Linked DNA regions of Homo sapiens: region 1 is linked to region 2. The links are contacts of gene promoters, found by promoter capture Hi-C in human tissues and cell types (Jung and others, 2019). All regions are on one chromosome and are shown on one strand. The core of a region is centred on a gene start or on the middle of the fragment in contact, and the rest is flanking DNA. Distances in the headings are between cores, read along the strand shown.

Region 1 (6,635 bases), core at 2,991-5,490, 37 kb before region 2:
GTTTATAAATAATGCATTTCCTTTGTCTTGCAGGAATTCGGGAGGCAGAGGTACAATCAGATCAGCTGTGAACAGCTTACATAGCAAATCTAATAGGTTTGTAAATTAGATTTTGTGTTCATTTGTTTTTGCTGTAAGGCAGCTATTAATCTGCTTCTCTTCTTTGCTGGATGGTGCCCTTCTTACTTAGCAAATAGATCTGTTTCGTTTCACTTTGGCTTTGCATTTCCCTAATCACTTTTGGGGGGAGCTGTCAATGGAAGATCACATGAAATGGCCCAAGGTCTAGAGGCTGCAGAGATGGAAAATGCAGATGGGTAAGAGTCACTTTCTGGAAAACAGCCCACCCACTTTGTAATGCCTGGGACACCAATGAGCTTACTCAAACTTGCATGTTTGCTGAGCAATGGAGACCCTGAAGGGAACCAGCATTTTCACTCAATTTCATTGTGGTAAATGGCTCGTCCAGGAGGTTAAGATGGAAAATAAAGCATTCGGGAACTTTGCTGAGACCTCTTAAAATATTTAGGGAGTCAACACAGTAATGTTAACCCTGATTATTGAACGTACGCTCCAAATTCTGAAAGAGTGTTTCTACTTCATGTAATGGTGCAGAACAGTCATTGCCAGGGGACAGCTTGATGCAGGACAGCGTGCAAACCCAGGCTTGCCCCTGGCTGTGGCTACACCATGCTTCTGAGTCCCCATTCTCCATCAATGACAAGTGCCCCATAGCTATGGCCTGTAGTCTTATAAGCTTGAGCTTAAGGAGCGGTGGAAGGAAGTGCCAAGTTATATGATGTAAACAAAGGCTACTACTCAAAATCAGGGCCTTGTTTTTCTTTCTAAATATCCTATTTTGGTCATTGTGGGAATAAGAGGTCCATATGATGCAGAGGATTGTCTATTATTTGCCCTTCCATATTTTTTTAGATCTCTTTTCTGTATGAGACCTGTGAAGTACATCTGTCCCTGACCCTGCATGACTGACTCGAGAAACTGTTCCCTCTGTCCCTGACATCATTGCTTCTAGCTCTCTAATGACCTCTTAGCCACCTTGGAGCTATGAATGAAGCCCGTGTTATGCCAGGTGAAATGTGAATATGGCAGAAAGAAAGAAGGCCATGTGCTCCTAAGTCTCTCTCTGTTCTATTATGAAATGATGCCCCATTTCGGAGAAAGAAGATCCTGCCCCTGAAGCCCAAGTCCTCGTGGTAGCTTGAGGGGCCACAGTCTCATATGAATCAAGTATGAGAAGTGGAAAAAAACAGTCCTGGGAGCCAGGCAGCCCTGGCCTCAGCCCCAGTGTTTGTTAGCCAGGACCTTAGGCAAGTGATTTTACCCCTCTGAGCCTTGGCTTCCCCATTTAATTAGAATAATACTGCAGTGTCTTCTTTGAGGAGTGTTTAAGGATTAGAACCACCAAATGTAAGAATCTATCTAACCCAACACCTGATATGTTAAAGGTACTTATTTGATGCTTGTTACTACTACTGTGGATATATCTGTGGCATGAAAAGAAGGTCACTGGGAGTGAAGTTCAGGAGTCGGGAGGTGAAGCAACTTAAGCCTGAAATGTACCTCTAGTGTCATTTTGGAAATGGGGGAGGGGACTGGAAACAGGAGAACACATTCATTGAAAAGGAATATCTCAACTCACCAATCCAACGTGTTTGTGCAGCACACAGCATGTAAAACCTGTGAACCGAGGTGGACCCTGGAGTTTTCTAATCCATCCCCTTTATTTTACAGATAAGAAGGCAGAGTCTAGAAATCTGAAGTGACTTTTCCAAGTCCCCCAGGTAGACTGCAACTGAGCCAGGGTTAAAATCCCTTAAGACCATGATGGGCTATGCAGGATGCCATCCAAATTCACCCTGGAAAGTGGAGAGAGAAATGGAATTTTACCATTACCCACACCAGCATTTATCTCTCTCCCTTTCCAGCCTTTGCCATCTTGTGTCCAGGAGAAGTCTGGAAACCTTTCCTGGAGGTTTCCAAGCAGGTCTCCTCTCCAGGCATCCACGGGAGAATTCCTCTGCAGCTCCTTCTTTCCTGAGCCTAGTGCCATCCAGTGTGCCCCAGTCTCTGAGAAGCATCACCCTAGACTGAACCCACCTTAAGCCATGAGACACCAGAGCCCAGTCACTGATTTCTGATGAGTACATCAGCTAGCCTCTTAGTGCGATAACTCCTCATCACCAACATTAAAGCATTTCTGTTGTGCGTGCCTACTGAGGTAGGCTTCAACAAAGCTGGGGTGAAGCCGCTAATTCTGTGTCGCTGAGGTCAGTGCCCCTGCCTGTGTTCTGCATAGAAGTTGGTGGTATCAAAAGGATGCAGCAATGCCAGCTCCTGCTAGAGCCTCATGAGGTGGCAGCCAGTGGGGCATGCCAGAAACATCGGTGCTCCTTTGAAAATTCCAGAACCTCACGAGATGGATATCTGTCTCTTCTACACCTTGTTTCTATAAATGGGCAATCTGTGGCTCAGAGAAGTAAAGCTATCGACCCACAGTCACACAGCTTATGAAATCTTTCCACTGTACCCAATGCGTCTTGCATGAAAACAGTAAAAATTCCAAAGGGTTAGGTCTTGTGTACCCTCTCGGAAGCTCCCTTAAGCCTGCATGCTAGGAAGAGTTCCTCTGCCTTACTCAAAACTCGTCAATTCTCTATCCTCTGCGAAGTTACAGATATTTGAATTCAAGAGAAGTGATATCAGCCAGAAGGAGTCAGAAATATTGAGGAATGGAGGTGGGTGCATGAAGGGAATGTGTGAGACAACATGCACCCCTAAGCGAAGTCCTTCTCTACCTGCAAAAGTCAAACTAGGGCCAAGCATGGTGGCTCATGCCTGTAATCTCAGCACTTTGGGAGACCGAGGCAGGCAAATCTCCTGAGGTCAGGAGTTCAAGACCAGCCTGGACAACGGGCGAAACCCCATCTTTACTAAAATACAAAAATTAGCCGGGTGTGGTGGCATTCGCCTGTAATCCCAGCTACTCAGGAGGCTGAGGCAGGAGAATTGCTTGAGCCTGGGTGGTGGAGGTTGCAGTGAGCTGAGATCATGCCACTGCACCCCAGCCTGGGTGACAGAGCCCGCCTCTGTCTCCAAAAAAAAAAAAAGAAAAAAGTCAAAGTGGAGCGTCAGGTTTAGAACTCACTAACAGGATTTCATCTTTTTTAACTTGGCTGTTTCAAGATAAATGGAGAGGACACAGATGTTTGGTTTGAACTCTTTAAAGCTTCAGAATGTGTCATCACAAATCCACTTATTCTAACTGGGAGAATCTGCTGTCAGCACAGACAAAAAGAACTTTGGATGTGACCCACATATATCTGTGTGCATCCAGCAGCAAGGCGGCTAACTCTTACACTGCCTTTAAAGATAGAATTGTAACCTAGTTTATAGAAACCTACTAGCATAGATTTCAAGCCTCTGAATTCAAGCCAGTCCTATAATACCTGGTGTTCCTGAGTCAGATGGAAAGGGGGTGTTTACCCAGAATCGTGATCCACCCAGGGAGTATAAAGCCAGCCAGTTCTTTCATTCACTCCAGGCTCCCCCGGGATCGATTTCAACCTAAATTCAACAATACTTATTTATTGAGCACCCGCTATGTTAGACCATTAGGGAATATAAAATGAATGTGGGAGATCCCTTGCGTACAGTCTCCTATGAGGGACAGACACAGCACAGATGACTGTGTAACAAGGTCCATGTTTCAAGGAGCATATCTCAGAATTACCCTCAAGAGAGTGATGGGGCTGCCAGGGAGGAGGGTGAAGCCACAGGCTACAATGACATTGTCCTGGTATGAGTTCTTGTTTTCTCTTTTAAGTTTGTAAGACCATCATTTGATACTTTGTTGCTCATATACCTGCTCCTTGTAGAGTTTCTTATCAATAGCTTGAATAAGAAATATTACTCTTCTGACAGTGACTGCCAGGTTTTACCAGGAAAAAAAAAATCACTAGGGGCAGGGGAAGAAGAATAAGTTTATCACCCTCCTTCCTGTCTCCAACAATGTATGTAGGTTATACCTTAGGGACAGAGTTTCTGCATTACTGGAAGATAAATAGACTTCCTTCTCTTCTCAGGTAATAACTGCAATTTTGCTCTTCTGGAGAAGTTTACATTCAAGCCCGTGCAAAAACAAAACTATTAGACTTGTCGTCGGCTTGCTAACACATCATGTCTACCCTCTTTCTTTTTTTTTCCCTTCCAGAGCTGAAGTTGTAATAAACGGCTCCTCATCACCAGCTGTTGTTGACAGAAGTAATGAAAGCATCAAGCACAACATCCAGCCAGCCTCGTCCAAATGGAGACATAACCAGACGCTCTCTCTGAGGATCAGGTACTGGTAATTACCTACAGGACAAGAGGTAGACTTGGTCTTGAGCATACACGGGCAAATTGCTTCTCTTCGTCATCTAAAGAAGTCAGGATAGAAATAAAATGTTTACCTCCCACTGAGGCAGGTTTCATCTGTAAGTGATCAATCGGAAATAAAAACCCGAGACAAGCCTAGCGGCCCAGCCTGTGTATGTGGCGACTGGGGCCAGGCGGTGGCAGGAACACCCGCTGAGGTTCTGGGCTTAGAAGCAGCAAACCTTGAGTCTCGGGTCAGCAGCAGAGGGAATCTGGGCAGTGGAGGCCACAGGTGGCTGCTTCTTCCCAGGCATAAAGAGTCCTTACTTGTTGGGGTCTGCCTGGGAGTCACATCCCCTTTCAGTGACAGTCCTCCAGTTTGTTCCTGGAGAGCTGCTCCCTCTCTCAGCCCTTGGGCTTGTATAGGCTGCTCCTCCCTAACAACGTGAAAATGAAAACCTAGAGCCATAGGGGCATCCGGAGAACCCAGGAACTGACATGACACCCGACCAGAAAGCAGAGGTCTGTTTAGCCAGAGAGCAGCTCTCGTCCTGATCTGTGCAGAGTGATGTTTTCAGAGCACTGCAGCCATCATCGGGTAGTGGCAATGGGGAACCGTAGAGAAGGAATTACAACTTCGGCATTTTGGACACTTAGCTTAGATATAGCCATGATTGACCCAGCAAATATTTGTAAGTATAATCCAACTATTCAGTTCCAGGCATCGTGCTGGGGCCCCAGGAGTGCTAGCATGAATCAGACATGCTAGCTGGGGACATGAATATAAGCAAAGACAAGACAGCGTGGTATGACATACACATGAGGTGGTGCTGCATCTTACACATAGATGGAAATAAACAGGCCATACTGAGCAAAGAGTCATTCATTTTGTAAGAGGACTAAGAAGACTGGCCAGGAAAGGCTGGCCAGGAGCAGTGGGTTTTGAAGGATAATTAGGAGTTCACCAAGCTGCTTCCCACATGCACAGAGTCTGTGATCTGGTGCTTGTGGACAGTGCTGCAGGAGCAGGAAGCAGGAGGCAAGGAATAGGGGGGTAAGGTTGGGACGATAGGCAGGACCAGACGGGGAATGATTGATGACCATCCCAGGCCATACCATGGGGAGAGAGGAGAGCAGCCATCAGCAATGTCACCACGCAGAGCAGGGAGTTGCCCCCTCCACAAGGCTCACTGTCAAAATGGAAATGCCTCTGCACCCTAGTTCTTGAAGCTTAGTTTTGGGACCTGTGCAGGGCTGGGGAATTGAAAGGCATGAGCTCTGGGGACCTAGCAGCTGAGAAACCATCTGAAGTAGCTGACTCCCTGCCACCCTGCACTCCTTACTTACCGCCTCTTCAGAGGCCTCCTGGTGGCCCTCCATCCCCCTCACGAAGCCCTAACAACCGCCCCCTTTGATCAGGGACACCGTGGAGTCAGCAACCCCAACTGCATTAGCTCCCTAGGGCTGCTGTAACAAATTACCAACAACGCGGCGGCGGCCTAAAACAACAGAAATGTATTCTTGCACCGCTCTGGATGCCACAATTCTGAGCACCCCCTTGCAGGCTCCAAGGGAGAACCCATCCTCTCACCGCTTCCAGCCTCTGGTGGCCGCAGAACTCCAACCCCTGCCTCCATCTTCACGTGGCCCTCTCCTCTGTGCTTCTATCTTCTTCTCTTCTGTCTCCTATAAGGACACCTGTCATTGTATTTAAGGCCCACCCGGGTAATCCAGGATCTAATCTCCAGATCCTTAAGTTAATTACATCCGCAAAGATGTTCTTTTGACATGTGGTCACATTCACAGGTTCCAGGGGTTAGGAGGTGGGCATATATTTTAGAGGGGGTCACCATTCTCCCCACTACACCACCGTGAATGAAATCCTCCTGCCAGTATGAGCTACCCATGGTCCCCAATGTCCCTTTCTCCAACCATTGGATAGAGAAATAGCTCCCCCACCCCTTGTGAAGACGAGACTGTGTCCTTCATAAAGACCCTGCAAACACAGTCCCTTCAGCAGCAACAATGTACCTTTACCCAGAGGGAAAAAGAATTTCCTCCAGCTTCAATTAATCACCAAGATTATTCATAATAAAAGATTCTGCAAGTGATTTGGAATGATGTTTAATAATTGATGGTAATTTCTCCTAATTAGTTAGAAATTAATTCACTCACAGAGGTGTTTATTTATGGGCTTTCTAGGGGCTCTCTTTGTTTTTAAATGCTTTGGGGTAAGTAATTGCAAAGGTTTCAGCAATTTC
Region 2 (6,802 bases), core at 3,637-6,136:
TGGCGGAGCTCCAGGGGCCTTGGCTTTCTCTGGCTCATTGTCCTTCTCCATCTGGGCCAATTGTCCTTCCCTGCCCATTCAGAGTTCAATTTGAGCCTCCACTGCAGTTCCTGGTGTGGGCCAGCTGGTGTTGGGTGGCCCCAGGGAGTCACACAGTCTGTACCCGGCCCCGAGATCCTCTGCTGTAACTGCAGGGTCACAGGCATCCCGGGAGAATGGGCCTCCACCCTCAGCCAGCCCTCACTGCTGACAGGCACCCCTCTGTCACCTCCTGCCACCTGTCAGATACCCAGCCTGCCCGCCATCAGCCACCCGAGTGGTTCCGACCTCCATTCACCTCAAGCCCCAACAGGCCCCTGTCATTCCACTTCATGGAAGAGACGGAGCCTTCTGAAATGAGATCTACCCTGAAAATCTCTTCTCCTTCCCCTTTCTGAGAAACGTCATCCCCACCAGTTAACGTTTCCTGTACACCCTCACCCTCTCTCGTCCATCTCTGTTGCCTCTGCACATCAGCACACACTGACTCCACCTGGGCTGGCTCCTGCCGCCTCTTCCCTACCTCCTCCACTAGCCGCAGGAAGGGCCTCCAGCACCCACAACTGCCCTTCCTCTTGATGCCCCTCGGCTTCCCCCCAGCCTGGCAGCAGCGTCCCAGCGCCTCCACATTGCCCCTCTCACCTCCCAGCTCTCCACGCCACTTGGCTCTGCAGCGACCCCTCCTAGACGCTCCCTGGCCCCTCGGCACCCAGAATGCCACATTCTTGTGTTTTTTTCCTCCTTCTTTCCCAATCCCTCTCAACCATGTATTTATTTATATATGTATGTATTTTTTTATTTATTATTTATTTATTGAAACCCCTACTTTGATTGACAAAGGAATCAAGGTAGATCTGACCAGTATTCCCCTCTCTTCTCCTTGTCCCACCACATGGACATGCCTTACACTGGCGTCCTCTCCTGAGTCCCTCCGCACTCTCCATCAGCAACCTCACACCTGCCTTCAGACCCGGCTGCAACTTCCTAAGCTGCCCCTGCCCCAGCTCCTCTCTGCAACCCAGCCCTCTCCTGAGCTCTAGGCTGGGATTACACCCGCTGGAGGGACACTCACCCCATCTGCTCCCACGGCAGCACCATCAACTCAACAAGTCAGAAGCCAAGTGGATCATCTGTGTCCCCTTCCCCCACAATCCCTCCTTTTTCTAGTAAAAGACCCGTGATCCCGTCAGCCACCCAGTCTGAGATGCTGACGTTATCTTCGACTATTCTTCCCTGTCCTGCCTTGCTAATTCTTCCCACTAGCACTAATCTCGACTCTTTGTCACTTGGACTATTTCAGCAACAGTCTCATCTCCCAGATTACCTCTGTGCACACTGACACGTGGTCCCGTCCATCCTGAACATGCACAGTGATTTTCCTCTCCCGTTGCACACAAACCTTTAAAAGTTCCCCGGCCCGTGAACAAATGTACAATTCTCTATTCTGACATTACAGACCACCGGATAAGGCCCCATTCTTCCTTTACACCCTCCCCTGGTCAGCCTAGGAGAGTTGTTTTTCCTGGAAAGGGTGCCTGCGTTTTACTGTCTCTGTGCCTTTGGTCTTGCTATCCCCATCCCCTGGAATGCTCCCTTTTCTTCCCTTCAAAGCCCATGCGGAAACCACGTCCTTCATGAAGCCCTCCCTGATGTACCAACCACTGGGATCTCTCCCTCTGCTGAACCACCGTAGCACTTTATTTGTACCTTTCTCATGGCACTTACCATATTCTGCCTTGTATTATAGTTATTTGTGCACTTGTCCTTTGACTGTTCTTAGACTGTAAGCTTGCCAAGGGCAGGGACTGTGTTTTATTCATCTGTATCCATCACAGCACTAGGCGTGGTGCATAGCACACAGCAGTTGCTCAATAAATGTTTGTTGGATTAAATCCTTAATACCTGTAGAGGGCTTTATACTTAAGGAAGTCATTTTGCATCTATAATATCACAAGAACCTCTGAAAAATCATGTGGGTTGGACCAAAGCAGAAATCATTATCCCCGTTGTATAGGTCATAAAACTGAGGCCAAAAACCTGCATGAAGCCTCACGGCTTCCTGGTAGAATGTTCATCCAGGTCTTCTCATCCTCACTTCAGGGCTTTTCCTGTTCATCTTTGTGGTTGGATCACTGTAAACTGAAAACTAGCCCTATGCAGAGGCCTAGACACAGAGACCCAACAAACCTCAGCATGAACCCCATCAGCACAGGCAAAATCTCACTCCTTTCTGGGAAGGACGAAAGCCATTTGGGTTTTACGAGTCCTGGGAGGTGGAGTTATAGGACCCCATCAGTCATTCCCACTGCTGTTGTTGAGGGTAGGAAACCATCCTTCCAGATGGCAGGGAGACTAACAACTCCAGGGGGCTGCTTTTTGATAAATCTCTTCATGCCTAATTAAGGCTCCCTCTCCAGAATGAATGGAAGAGGATGTTTACTGATGCCAGTCAGATGGGACTCCAGACATGTGTACTGCCTCATGAATGTCCTTAATGCTATCCCCAATGACACTGACAGCCTGCCCCAGCCTCTGTCTCTCACCAACACTGCCGAATGTCATCTCTTCTCATCTTTATCTCTATTCTTTGCTTCCTGTCTTCAGGGCTCTTCCCTTGGCATTCACCAGGAGCAGAGTGAGCCCAGAGAGCTGAGTGGTATCCCTTCTTCTTGGGTCCCTGAGCCCTGACCTGGAGCAATGCTGTGAGACAGCAGGAAAGGAGGGGAGTGTGGAGTGGGGAGCACTATATGCCACTCCTCATGGAAGCAGAAAAAAACAGGCTTTTGTTCTGGTGGCAGGTCATCCACAACAATGGGATGTTTCCATGGTTACCATCTAGAAGCAATATCTTAGTTGTTTGGGGCTTTATGATGGGGGTAATGTAATTTCTGTTCTTAGCAATCCAGGTGACAGGGCAATTTCCATATATAGTCCACTGAGCCATCCAGCCCCAGATCATAGTTTCTCTAGAATCGTCCTAGCTGTCTGCAGCCAAAGCCCAATAGAACCACCCAACAAAGAGCACTAAAGGTCCCTTGTGGCCTTTCTCAGTCTTCCTCACCATTTCCTCAGCCACCTTTCCCTAGAACCTGGGGGATGGGAAATGGGGCTACTGTGGGCTTCCAAGAACCATGCCAACAAAGACCTCAAGTTCTCCAGTCATGACAACATTTTTAAATATTTAAAAGCATTCTCCAAAACTGACCCAGAACCAGCTATGAGCGGCCATCCCTTAAGGAATTAATAGAAAATGAGGATCCAATGGCCAAAAAGTGGAGGACTGCCATGCAACCCACATGGACCCTAGAGTGATGGGTCCAGGCAGTCATGGGGGGAGTGCAGCCCTCCATTCAGCATGCTGAGGCAAGTCAAATGGGGTTGGTGCAGGAAAACGCCCTTTCAATTTGTTTCCAAGTGTCTTTATTTTCTAAAATGAGACTGTAATGGTGGAGCTGCTGGACAAAGTCAATGAAGGGATGACTGGCCCGTCAGAATCATGAATGCTTAACAGAAGCTGTGTGTTCCAGGGAAGACCACTCTGAGGCAAGCTGTTTTACTGCATTCTCATTCCAGTGGCCTAGGTGGGCAAGAATATAACTCACTGTAATAACAACAGCGGGACAGGTTGCTTGGCTGTATCTTGTGTTCACAAATGCCCCATCTCTGGTCAGGAGCTCTGGAAGGAGTACCAGATGATCTGAAAGCCTGCCACTCAAGAACCTAGAGGGCATGAATGAGACTTGGCTCTGGTATTTTTCCATCTGTAAAATGGAGAAGACACCTACCGACCTCCTTTATGCAGTTATTGCAAAAATGCAAATACAGGACAAGGTAGATAGAGAAATTGGGTAGAGGGAGTGGGGATGCTCAGTGGTATAAAGCAAGTGAAATGTATGCAGCTGTGAGTTTTCAGGATTCTGCTTGTCCAACATCAGATCACACCATTGCCCTGCTTAAACCCTCAGTGGCTTTCCTTCATCCTTGCAAGAAAATTCCAAGCATCTTACCATGGCTTACAAGACCTTGAGCCCTCCTCCCTCTGGCTCCCTGTTATTCTAGTGTCAGGGCCTTTGCACTTGTTGCGCCCTCTGCCTGGAAATCTGCTTCCCAGCTCCTTGCCTTCCCTCTCTGTCTCATCTTTCATGCTTCAAATTGAATGTCACCTCCTGGGGAGCCTGCTCCTTGTCTCCCTCAGCTAATTACTTTCTATTACACGACACATTATCCTGCTAGGTGGTCTTCATAAACTAAATTATCTCATTTATTTTGTAGTTCTCAACCCCAAGGACCCTCCTAAAAGATCCCAGTGCTCAGGCCACACTCCACACAAGTTTAAACATCTCTGGAAGCTGATCACGGACATCTTCCTGGCTCACGGTCAGAACTGAGAAACAATGACATATCTGCTCACTAGTTTATGGTCCACCTCCACTTCTAGGATGTTCCAGGGGTACTTGTTTTCCACAGGGGTCACCTATGCCCTGGAAGGTGGAAGTGGCCCTCCTCCAAAGTAATTGTTGATGACTCTGCCTGGGGTGCTGGCAACAGGCTTGCAATGTGACCATATCCCTGGTGCTCTCAGCAGGTACAGGCCAGCTTTGAATTTCCCAAGGATGACACTTTACCCCCTGCAGCTCCAGATAAATGTCCAGCATTTTTACCCATTAGCTGAGCTAGTGGGTGGAATTTTTCCAGTCCCCATTTGACCCACTCAGAGAATTTCATGAGCCTTGCCTTACCCAGGAGGCTCTTTCCTGGCTTGTGCAGGCTTTAGAACTCCACCCCCTAGCCCCACCCCAAAGACCTTTATGAGCTCAGCTGGACATTGGAACCACTGGAGGAGCTTTAAAACCTCCTGAAACCTAGGTCTGGCCTTCAGGGAATCTGATTCCTTGGTCTGGGGTATGGCCCGGGCATCTCCTGAAGCTCACCAGGTCACACAGAGGTGTAGCCCCAGCTGGGAACCACTGACCCAGACTCAGTTCCTGAATTTCTGTGACCGCTTCCATGGCAGCCCCTCTCAGGCCCCTGGTGTGAGGTCTTTCTTTTGCTTCTGGCTTCTGAGAGTTTCCTTTCCTGATTCCAGGCTGGGCTCGGTTTTGTCTGGTGGGTTTTTTTGCCACTGCCGTTGTGTTAGTGGCATCCAGGTCTCCGGATTACTGCATGCTTGCAGTGGGAGGAAAGGCCTGTCTACCATGTTCTCTGCCTCCCCTTCATGTTCTGTGAGGAGAGGGGCCTTGTCTGGCATGTTCACCGAGGCATTCCTGACCACTAGAACTGTGCTTGGCACAGAGTAGGCACTTAATAAACTCCTGCTGCATGAACAAAAGAACAAGTGTGGATGCTTCAAAGGAAGACTTGCACCCGGCTGACCCCCAGAGTGGGGAAGGGGTCCCACCTAATAGGAAGAACACCAAGACTTCCCCAAGAGGAGAAGGAACGGCTCCCCCTTTCTCGGCGAGGCCATGTGTCTGGACCCTGTGTGAGATGCTTTCTATACTAGCCCTTGTTGGGGTGTTGCACCCATTTTACAGATCAAACAACCAAGTTTATCAGAAATTAAAGACTCATTTAAGATGCCAAAGCTCACGAGTGGATGGTTTGATGCTGAAGCCAACATTGTTAACACCATCTCAGCTCAAAAGCCCTGAAGGCCACTTAATTCTACCAACCTTCAACCATCTTGTCATAAGGTGAGCCTGCACTCAGGAGTGACAGGAAGACAGAACTCACCTTCCTATAGCCCAGACTCCTCACAGGCTACTGCTCCACCCTGGCTCTTCCCACTGGCAAAGCAGATACAGACCCAGAGCACACCTGTATAGCAATGTCAATTGTTCAAATGCTTCCTTGCCAGGTGGTCAAGAGCCACAGCTCTGAGCACCCCCTGTGCCCTGTGCTCCAGCACTGTGGCCAAGGTCCATTCTGATTGGTCAGGGGCCCTCTGTATTGGTAAATACTTTGCATATCACCCCTGCTCCCAGGTTCTCCAGGCAAGAAACTAGGGGCCAGGTGGCCGATTTGGGCGTTTAGACCACTGGGCAAGACACCAGAGCCTCACTGCACTGCTGTTTCTGTGGCAGCTACTTTGGGTGACTGGCTTTCCTCTCTTGTTTTCCACAGACACATCCTCGACCCAAAGCAGATATTCTGTGTAGCTGATGTGTGTACAGATTGCAAATTCAATTGCGGAAGCATAGAGAGGCACCAGAAGAGGCATCTTATGAGAGTCAGCCAGGACTGGTAATGAGCAAACCATCACCTTGAATAGCCTCTGAGAGGTACACAGTGAAGGGCCAGAGGATGACAGAAACAGAAAGAGGGTCTGAGGACCAGAAAAGAACAGGAAATGTTCACTGAGCACTAACTAGACGCTTTACATGGGCTAGATCATTTAATTCTCATAGCTACCCATTTGAGGTTGACATTATTATTATTCTCACTCTGCAGAGGAGGAAACTGAACCAAGAGGTTGATAAACTTCCCCAAGGCCAAAAAACTGGGAAATGGTTGAGCAGGAATTTAAACTGAAGCCCTCAGGTTCCAGAGTGGTGCAGGAAGCCTCTAAGCTTGACCTTGATCTGCAGCCACTGAAGCTGATGAAGGTCATAAAATGGGGATAAATAACACCAGCTTCAGAGGGGGTGATGGAGGAAGGAGCAGTCTAGTCAAAGTGCTCAGTGCAGTGGCTGACACACGGCAGACACTCAGCTAATGGAAGGTAGCTAGCTACTCGACTCAGGGTGTTGCAGAAAGACAAAGC

The links. The method cuts DNA at HindIII sites, captures the fragments that hold promoters and counts their contacts. A contact is called where the count stands out against the background at its distance.
Region 1: a contact is called between a fragment that was not itself captured here and the fragment with the promoter of C15orf32 in region 2, in 2 of the 25 tissues and cell types used here (H1 embryonic stem cells and pancreas).

What each region holds. Positions count from the first base shown.
Region 1 is chr15:92,430,016-92,436,650 of GRCh38, forward strand. ST8SIA2 (ST8 alpha-N-acetyl-neuraminide alpha-2,8-sialyltransferase 2) reads left to right here. Exons shown (of 6, transcript NM_006011.4): 2 at 34-96; 3 at 4,232-4,360. Among named protein-coding and RNA genes, the nearest start is that of C15orf32, 38 kb to the right of the region's middle. RefSeq lists an enhancer at 1-412. The HindIII fragment of the contact is 4,476 bases long and covers 2,003-6,478 here.
Region 2 is chr15:92,466,791-92,473,592 of GRCh38, forward strand. It overlaps C15orf32 (chromosome 15 putative open reading frame 32), which reads left to right and starts at 4,887. Exons shown (of 3, transcript NR_161371.1): 1 at 4,887-5,732; 2 at 6,163-6,320. It overlaps LOC104613533 (a long non-coding RNA gene), which reads right to left and starts at 4,756. Exons shown (of 2, transcript NR_126501.1): 1 at 4,451-4,756; 2 at 3,443-3,616. It overlaps ST8SIA2 (ST8 alpha-N-acetyl-neuraminide alpha-2,8-sialyltransferase 2), which reads left to right. Exons shown (of 6, transcript NM_006011.4): 6 at 1-1,938. The HindIII fragment of the contact is 6,399 bases long and covers 713-6,802 here.